Linked DNA regions of Homo sapiens: regions 2 and 3 are each linked to region 1. The links are contacts of gene promoters, found by promoter capture Hi-C in blood cells and fetal thymus (Javierre and others, 2016). All regions are on one chromosome and are shown on one strand. The core of a region is centred on a gene start or on the middle of the fragment in contact, and the rest is flanking DNA. Distances in the headings are between cores, read along the strand shown. Region 1 overlaps MORC1 (MORC family CW-type zinc finger 1). Region 2 holds the start of ABHD10 (abhydrolase domain containing 10, depalmitoylase). Region 3 holds the start of NECTIN3-AS1 (NECTIN3 antisense RNA 1).

Region 1 (2,671 bases), core at 63-2,562:
AAGGCCTGCAGAGCCACATGGAAGTGAACACTTGTAAGAAATATGGAGAAGCTCAGTAGCAGCACCATACAGAGTGAAAGAAACGAATGCTATTATATTAATAGAAAGGCAACTAGTGTCAGATTATAGACAGCCTGGGCTGTAGGCCAAGAAATGTATAGTAAATACAAAAGATTAATTCAGAAAGACCTAGGGGACACATAAGCAATTCATCACACATTGCAGAAATATATTGATTATGCAAATACACTACTCATTAACATTACTTAGGTATAAAGGGGTAAATATAGGGTAGCTTAATTCAGGGAGAAAGGTATGATCTGTCTTTTAATGATTGAGGGTATTAAGTGGATTTTAGATGGTACCATAAAATCCTGAATAAAGTGTAACTAAAACTAGATTCTGTGTGCATGATAATGACACAATCATCCTTGTCACACAATAGAAGGTAGAAGAGAAATTTTAAGTTAAATCTGAGAAAGAGGCAAATTTGAGAACGGAGAGGTCCTGAAATACAGAGAAATTTATTTTATAACATTATGGTTTTTAAATTATTGCCTAGGTTTACCAAAAAATAACAATTATCCAGCTAATATGCCAATTACAACTGAGCAATCCAGTGAAACAATAGAAATAAAAGCTTCATCACTTGGCCAGCAGGTGGCACTTGTCACTCGGTATAGAAAACAGCAGGTAATGTGGAATGAAGCTGAAAGTAGTTAGAAACAGATTACTTATTCATCTATTCAAAAGGATAAAGATGGGGATGGGTTGTATTCAGAAGCACAATTTATAACAAGGATCTTGGCTTGTTGACATAGCTTATCAATTACATGGAGGACAACCCCTTTAGTCTATAAAATGCACCACAGGTGACAGATCTTGAATTTGAGCTCTCCTATTAGGTTTACTGAACTTAGGTATTTCCCTTAACAAATATGATTTGCAATATATAAGTTTGTTGCTACTGTAAATGTTCTTATGTCCTTTTTGTCTGTATTTTTCCTATAAGACTGCGAGAAATATGGTGCTGGAATTGGGCAAAAAGGAAATAAATTCCAACTTCACCATTTAAAGTTACGTGCTTTGATTAAAATTATTTTTAACTTTTTTGGATTTCACTTTCCTCTTTGTTAAAATAGATATAACTAGCTGGAATGTTGTAGGAATTAAATAAGATACCATGTGGAAACGATACCTTTAGATCTAGCTACTTCATTTTCTCCTATGGGACAACATCTAATAATTAGGATAACTCTCTTACCATCTAATCATTAGATACCCATAGAACCTAAAATCCAGAAAGATTTTTGATTTACCTGGTCAACCTTTCATTTTCCAGATCAAGATGCCTGCTACCATTAAAGCTGAAATGCAAGAGAGTTAAGAGATAGGGTGTGCAGGTTTAGGTCATTTTTATATTCACTACACAGGTCTGGTCAATGGATAAGTGGTCATTGGGAGTGGGATGGAGGAAGAGAAAACAGGAGGTGGGCAAATAATAATTACATGGCATATATTGTATGATTCTGTGATACTGAATGGGTGAATGGACACCAAAAATAGACATACAGTGAATCATAGTAATAAACTAGCCAGTTCTTGATTTTTTCAGTGATGTCTAGCCTATATTTGAAACTGAATGGGGCCAATGATGGCCTGTTTTTCTAGCTTTCCCATCCTTTCTTATCTCACATTCCAAAACTACTTCTAAAGGGTTTTAGAATGAGGACAGGAAATTTACACTGAACATTGCATGGTTTTTAGTCTTAGTTTTGACATCAGATAAATATCACCAAAACATAGTTTCTGAACATGTTCATGGATTATTTTTGTGAAAGGAGGAATCAAGGTCATCTTTCAGAGGTCTTCTGTTCAGTAATTACCATATTATAACTATATGGGAGTTGCATCATTGTAACAAGTCACACCATTTTTAAAAGAGAGATGCCACACAAATACTGAGTTTAATTTTTAAAATATGAAAGCTTAACATGTAATTTAAGTGACTGGTTCCATGAAAGAACAAATCAGTGTTCAGCTCCAAGTGTTCCTTTAGGTTGTTTTTCTCACCTGAAATGCCCTATCCTTTTCCCTCTATTTATCCTAAATAGACTTCAAGATACAAGTATCACTTCCCCTATATAACTTTCTTTGGTTTCTTTTTCTTTTTTCTTTTTTTTTTTTTTTTTTTTTTTTTTGAGACAGAGTCTCATCTTTCCCCCAGGCTGGAATGCAGTGGCGTGGGCTCACTGCAACTTCTGCCTCCCAGGTTCAAAGGATTCTCCCACCTCAGCCTCTGAAGTAGCTGGGATTACAGGCGTGAGCCACCACACCCAGCTAATTTTTTGTATTTTCTGTAGAGATGATGTTTCACCATGTTGGCCAGGCTGGTCTCAAACTCCTGACCTCAAGTGATCTGCCCATCTCAGCCTCCCAAAGTGCTGGGATTACAGGTGTGAGCCACCATGCCCAACACCCCTATATAACTTTCTTTGATTGAAGCTGCCCTCACTATCTCCTGCAGTAAACTTCTATTGCAGTGTCAGTTACAATAAGAAAACACATGTGAATTAATATTACTTTATAGTGGTTGCTCATTTTTAAATAGCTGTTAGACTTGATCCACAAAAAGACTGTATAATATCTGACGGCATGTTTTACTTATTGA
Region 2 (2,671 bases), core at 85-2,584, 3.0 Mb after region 1:
TTACTATCTTATATATACTCAAAGTATTACACAAGCCACCATAACTTTTAAATAGGAAACTACTACGTAAAACTCCATGGTTGATGCTTGAGGCCCCCAGGAATTAGTTTGAAAGGTATTTAGAGCTGGAGTCCGGAAACCCTTGTACTACAATTTATTCAACTATTTTTCTATTGTTAGCCATTCCCATTTTTTTCCTTCTCTTTGCCTCTAAAAACGGTGTAGTAGATAATATGCAGTCTTAAGAACTAGTGTTGTTTTTCTATAGGATAATCACAAATTGGTGCCACTGCGTTAAAAGGCACTGGAATGGATGCATATTTTAAAATTGTAATAGATGTGGCCATATTACTTCACAACAAATTTTAGTAATTCACCTTCCTAGCAATCATACATAAGTGCTAGTGTCTAGCATCCTTGCCAATTATTTTTCTTTTTTGCCAACTGAATGGGGGGAAAAAGGCATTATTTTTTTAATTCCAGTTTTTCATTTAGTGAGTTTGAGCATCATGTTTCCTTATATGGGCTGCCTATTTATAGCTGTTGGCCAATTTTATTTGAATTATATTTCTTATTTATAGGAGCAGGCTGAGTAGAAGTATTAATGTATCTATGCTACAAAATCCATTTTTCTAAGCTCTTAACTTGAGGTGTCTTTTGCCATTCAAAAAGTTTAAATTCGTATACAAATATATTTTTTATTTATGATGTTGGGGTTTTGAAATCTTGGTTAAGAAAGTCCCTTCTGTCCCCGGATTATATAATATTCTCCTAAAATTTATTTAATCCTCTCAGTTGTATTCTTCCGTTGAAATCTTTTTTTACTGAAATTTATTTTCGCATATAGCACGAGGAGGGGGCCAAGATAATTCAGTATTTCGTTAATCAGGCATATAGATCTAGAGCGGGGAATGTCCGATACCATTCCAGGTTATACAGGCGAGATTAATGTCAGATCTTGGGAGCATTTCCAGTACAGGTTAAAACTGTCACGCGGTCGGCGGGATTGCAGGTGATGCAGCAAGCCTGGTGTCCTCGACAGGAGACGTTTCCCATCTAGGACCGTTGGATAGGGTTCCTTTCTGAGCTTCCAGCTCTGTAGTATCTATCAGCCCGCTGATAGGGCAGCCTCCCGACGCCACTCAAAACATCTTAAAGGCCCCAAGCCAAACCCCGCTACTAGTAGAACCAACAGTCTAAACGAAAGAGCCACGACGCTCTGCGCATGTGCGCTCTTCGCAAGCTGAAAATCTTGCGGGGAGCTCTTTAGCAAGTTCCGCCTTCCAGCCTGAAGCGCATGCGCAGCCTCGGTTCCGTTGCGTAGCGTGTCCCTCAGTGGGACACTGCAGGGTGCGGGGACAACTACGAAGATGGCGGTTGCGCGCTTGGCAGCTGTGGCGGCCTGGGTACCTTGTCGGAGCTGGGGCTGGGCAGCCGTCCCCTTCGGTCCCCACCGTGGCCTCAGCGTGCTGCTTGCACGGATACCTCAGCGGGCGCCACGGTGGCTCCCAGGTCAGTGTCCGAAAGGCGGGAGTAGGATGCGTTCTTTCGAACGCCTCGGGTTCCGTCAGTTACCGTGCCTGTGCAGTGCGTCTTTGGCGCCCGGTTCAAAAATGCTCCTCCCCCTTTCTCAACACCCCAGTTCTAGGCGCTTTGTAGACTTCTGGTGAAGGCTGTGAGGAGAGCTCTGCCGCGGCCCTGCGGCATTCTGGGCACCCCGGGCCCTCGCTGGCGTTTTACACTGTGCAGTTTAAAGAGCTCCTGCTCCTTACCTGCCTCCCCTGCATTAAAGGCCAACACTAGAAAAAATTAAAATGTGCATTTAATGCATTATTATTAGTTACTTCTAGGAATTTGTAGATTGTGACTCCTAAAATGCTTAGACTGACTCTCCTTTGAGTTTAGGGAACCTAACAATGCGAGGCATGTTCTTTGTAAAAGTGTAGACGCCCTCATAAGCCTAATTTCTAGTTCTGCTTTCTTGCTGCACCCACTCAGTGAAAGAACCATAATCATTATTGCACAAAGGAAACTAGAATTTGGGCTAAAAATCAGAGAACCTCTTATATGTATATATAGTCTTTGAATTAGATCCTTTTATTTTTTTGGCTTTGTGTGTGGTTCACACCATTGCCACGTAGCTGTCAGATGATGCATGGTGCTTGGAGTGGTAATTAATGTCACGGCAGAGATCTTTTGTATGGAGATTTTTGTATCCAGTTTTTAAACTTTTATAATCAGATTAACTTGCATTTAATTGTGCGCAACCAAAAGGCATGTTACACATGCAAATACTCCTAGTAAAATGTAGTATGTCAATTCATTAACCAGAGTATAATATTATTTCATCTAGTTAGCACTTATTCATTGAGCACTTATGCACCAGGCTTTGAATTAATCCTTATGTTCAAAGATGATTTATGAATATAATTATATGAATCTGTCTACTTAGAACTTACATTAAATAAATTATAATCATCTCGGGGAAATTATGTTTTAAGAGGTGATTTCTGGAAGAGGATAGTGAGAATTTTTTTTAGTGCTCAGCTGAGTAGATGGGAAATGAACATGAGTGGATCAGCATAACTGGTCCTTACCAAAAGTTTTAAATTTGGCATATTTCTCTATACTTTGAAACAAGCTTTTATGTAAAAAGGATAACTTTAAGGCC
Region 3 (2,671 bases), core at 75-2,574, 2.0 Mb after region 1:
CAGCTATGAAATTCTAATAATAGTCTCAAACTTTTCACTTGGATTATTTGAGTAAATGTAAAATGCCCAGCACTGTACATAATTACTTCTTTGTTAAGATGTCAACCTTTGTTTTTTAGTTAAGAGTTAATGAACCTTGATAATTGGCAAACAATCTTTGAGCCGAAAGTAGGATGGACACCATCAGTACTCTTAACCCAAAACAATGAAACTATTGTTGGCATTAGGATTACATTGCTTTCTGTTCAGATAATTTTTTTCTGAAAAAATGCATGTATACTTTGTTATTCAATGGTGTCAGAAATATTAATAAGTTAGCTATAATTAAGTATTCCTTAAACAGTTTGTTATTCAAACAATAAATGTGAACTTATGTATAAAGTTAGAAGACTAAAAATGGCATAGAACGCACTAATACTCTCATGCTAAAGGTTTTAAAAAAATTAATAGTATTTCTGCCCTTGAAAAACATGAGTTGTATATGTAATGTAAAATCTTTTTCTGTGGCCAGTAAAAATTTCCAACAGGAAAGCTTGGGGTGAGTATGTCTAAAATTCACTCATCTGAGGAGAATGTAATTTAAGATTGGGCACTTTTATTATAGAAAGTAGAAATTTGAGTTATCTTACTTTTTAACTTAAAGAATCATCTTGAGAGATCAATGGTGTCCACTGGAAGGCAAGAACTTGGTTCTGGCAGGAAAACCACCACTGGCTGGTAGTATTTGCAGAGCACTTAACCTCTGTGCCTAGGTTCTTGTAGCTGTCAAGTAGATAATAGTAATTGCTACCTTCCGTGGGAAGTGAGCTTGTGCTTTGACATCTTTAGTTGAAGATGCTGTATAAACACAAATTATTATTATTAGAATATAATACATATATGCACATAAAACACCAGCATGGTGCTCTTTTAATGCTTATATAACATCTATAAATAATGCTCTTCCATGCTCTCTCTTCACTTTAGGTCAGAGAATATCATAGCAGACCACTATTCAATTTCTGTAAGTATGGAGGAAATATATTTGTTAAAGCTCCATGTCATCTTTTTGAGACGAACTTAACCTGCTAATTCCTTATGGTCTCTGTAGCAATTGCCCGATGGCCCCTACCCAAGTTAAGCCTTTGGTATTTTTTGAAATGTTGGCTAAATTACTTTTCTTGGAGATGTGGAGCCATCAGGGAAAACCTGGAAGAATGAAATTGGCTAGTGATATTAAAATTTTGGTTGTTTAACATTTAACTGAGTCTCAACAACGTGTTAAAGTGCTATCTAAACAGATAATTAGCTAGTGGCTGCGCAGTGAGCTGTCTAAATTTAGCAGTGAAATTAGGTTTAGGGAATGCGAATATAGAAAAAGAAATTTTCTCAAGGGAAACGGTGGTGTCAGCACAGCTGAGGAATGTCACAATAGCTACATTTTGTCAATTATGATCATCATCAGGGGATCTCCCGGAGCGATGCAGGACAAGGTTTATTCATAAGTGCATCTTGAGAATAGGTGATAGAAAGCCTTGGCTGCAGGAGACAAGCTTACAGGGGACGACAGAGGCAGACAGGCACAGGGAGGGAGGGAAGAGGAAAGGGCTGGAGGGAAAAAGGCACTAGACCGAGCGCTGGGAGACTGGAAGGGAGGCAGAAGTTAAGAAAGAAAAAAGAGGTGGGCAGGGTGTAGAATGGCTTGTAGCCTTGGAGGTTAGTAAAGCCTTGTAATCCAGCGGGCGGAAGGTGGGAAGACCCTATTGACTGAAAGCCGAGGACAGCGTGGTCTTGGCCGCAAGCATGCATTAGTTTAGCTGCGACAGGCTAACTTCTGGGCGGCTGATCCTTGTTCAGCTTTCCTGTTACTGGAACACATTTATGGCTATCTCGTGGAGATGACAGGACCTACATAAAATTAATAGTGTCAGGCCTGAGGACTGGTGTCCTCTGCCTTCAATTCACCCCCTACGCTGGACAGTCCAAATTGTCCACCCTCCTACTCCCCCCGCGGAACCAATGTGGCAGTGGCTCCAAGGTCAAGCTGCCGGTACTGTGCGAGGCGGGAGGATGGAGAGGGCAGGGCGGAGAGCCACCTGGGATGAGCGAGGGTCATGGTGGACCACAGACGCTCTTCTTATACGGGCAAATGTTTAATACTTCCCGAGGTCGCCTCTCTGCCATCAAACGAAAACAGGCAAGAAAATAAAACTACACATACGAACATGCAAAGGAAACAAAACCAAAGAAAAACACCAACGCACTCGTTGGGGGAAATCCATGGCCTCCTGTTGCCAGTCGCCCGGCGCGGAAAGTGGACAGCCCAGCGGCCAGTGAGAAGCAAGAGCAAGAAAGCAAACCTTCTGAAGACCCCTCTCCTCGCCCAGCTCCGCCGACCATTCTACCAAGCTGCCCTCCCAGAAAAAAGAGCAGGAAAAATGCCTGTGCAAACGTGCCTTGGCGAGCGGGGAATAAGTGGGCTGGGAAGAAGGGAAGGATTCGGAGAGCACAGCTGTCCCGGGGAACAGGAAGGAGGAGAAAGTCTCTCCCTCCCTTCAGTGCCCCGCGCCCCAGCGAGGAGGAAGATTACTAGTCCAGCAGGCTGCGTCCAGCTTCCTACACAGGAACCTTTAGCATGGGCAACGGAAGGGCAGCCCCCTCCTGCCTTCCCCTCCCCACCCCACCCCCTCGT

The links. Contacts are between HindIII fragments. The CHiCAGO score rates a contact against its expected background, and 5 or more counts as called.
Region 2: the fragment with the promoter of ABHD10 here is called in contact with a fragment that was not itself captured in region 1 in 1 of 17 cell types (total B cells); the score reaches 7.0 in total B cells.
Region 3: a contact is called between the fragment with the promoter of NECTIN3-AS1 here and a fragment that was not itself captured in region 1, in 1 of 17 cell types (naive CD8 T cells). The highest score is 6.9, in naive CD8 T cells.

What each region holds. Positions count from the first base shown.
Region 1 is chr3:109,023,205-109,025,875 of GRCh38, forward strand. All of the region lies in intron 17 of MORC1 (MORC family CW-type zinc finger 1), which reads right to left. Among named protein-coding and RNA genes, the nearest start is that of GUCA1C, 71 kb to the left of the region's middle. The HindIII fragment of the contact is 1,348 bases long and covers 639-1,986 here.
Region 2 is chr3:111,977,692-111,980,362 of GRCh38, forward strand. It overlaps ABHD10 (abhydrolase domain containing 10, depalmitoylase), which reads left to right and starts at 1,335. Exons shown (of 5, transcript NM_018394.4): 1 at 1,335-1,512. The coding sequence starts at 1,371. RefSeq lists enhancers at 977-1,536, 1,395-1,444, 1,455-1,504, 1,525-1,574. The HindIII fragment of the contact is 3,690 bases long and covers 1-2,639 here.
Region 3 is chr3:111,068,635-111,071,305 of GRCh38, forward strand. NECTIN3-AS1 (NECTIN3 antisense RNA 1) reads right to left here and starts at 1,325. Exons shown (of 4, transcript NR_045114.1): 1 at 1,156-1,325; 2 at 630-837. It overlaps LOC151760 (putative uncharacterized protein LOC151760), which reads right to left. Exons shown (of 4, transcript XR_007096272.1): 2 at 630-837. The HindIII fragment of the contact is 1,000 bases long and covers 531-1,530 here.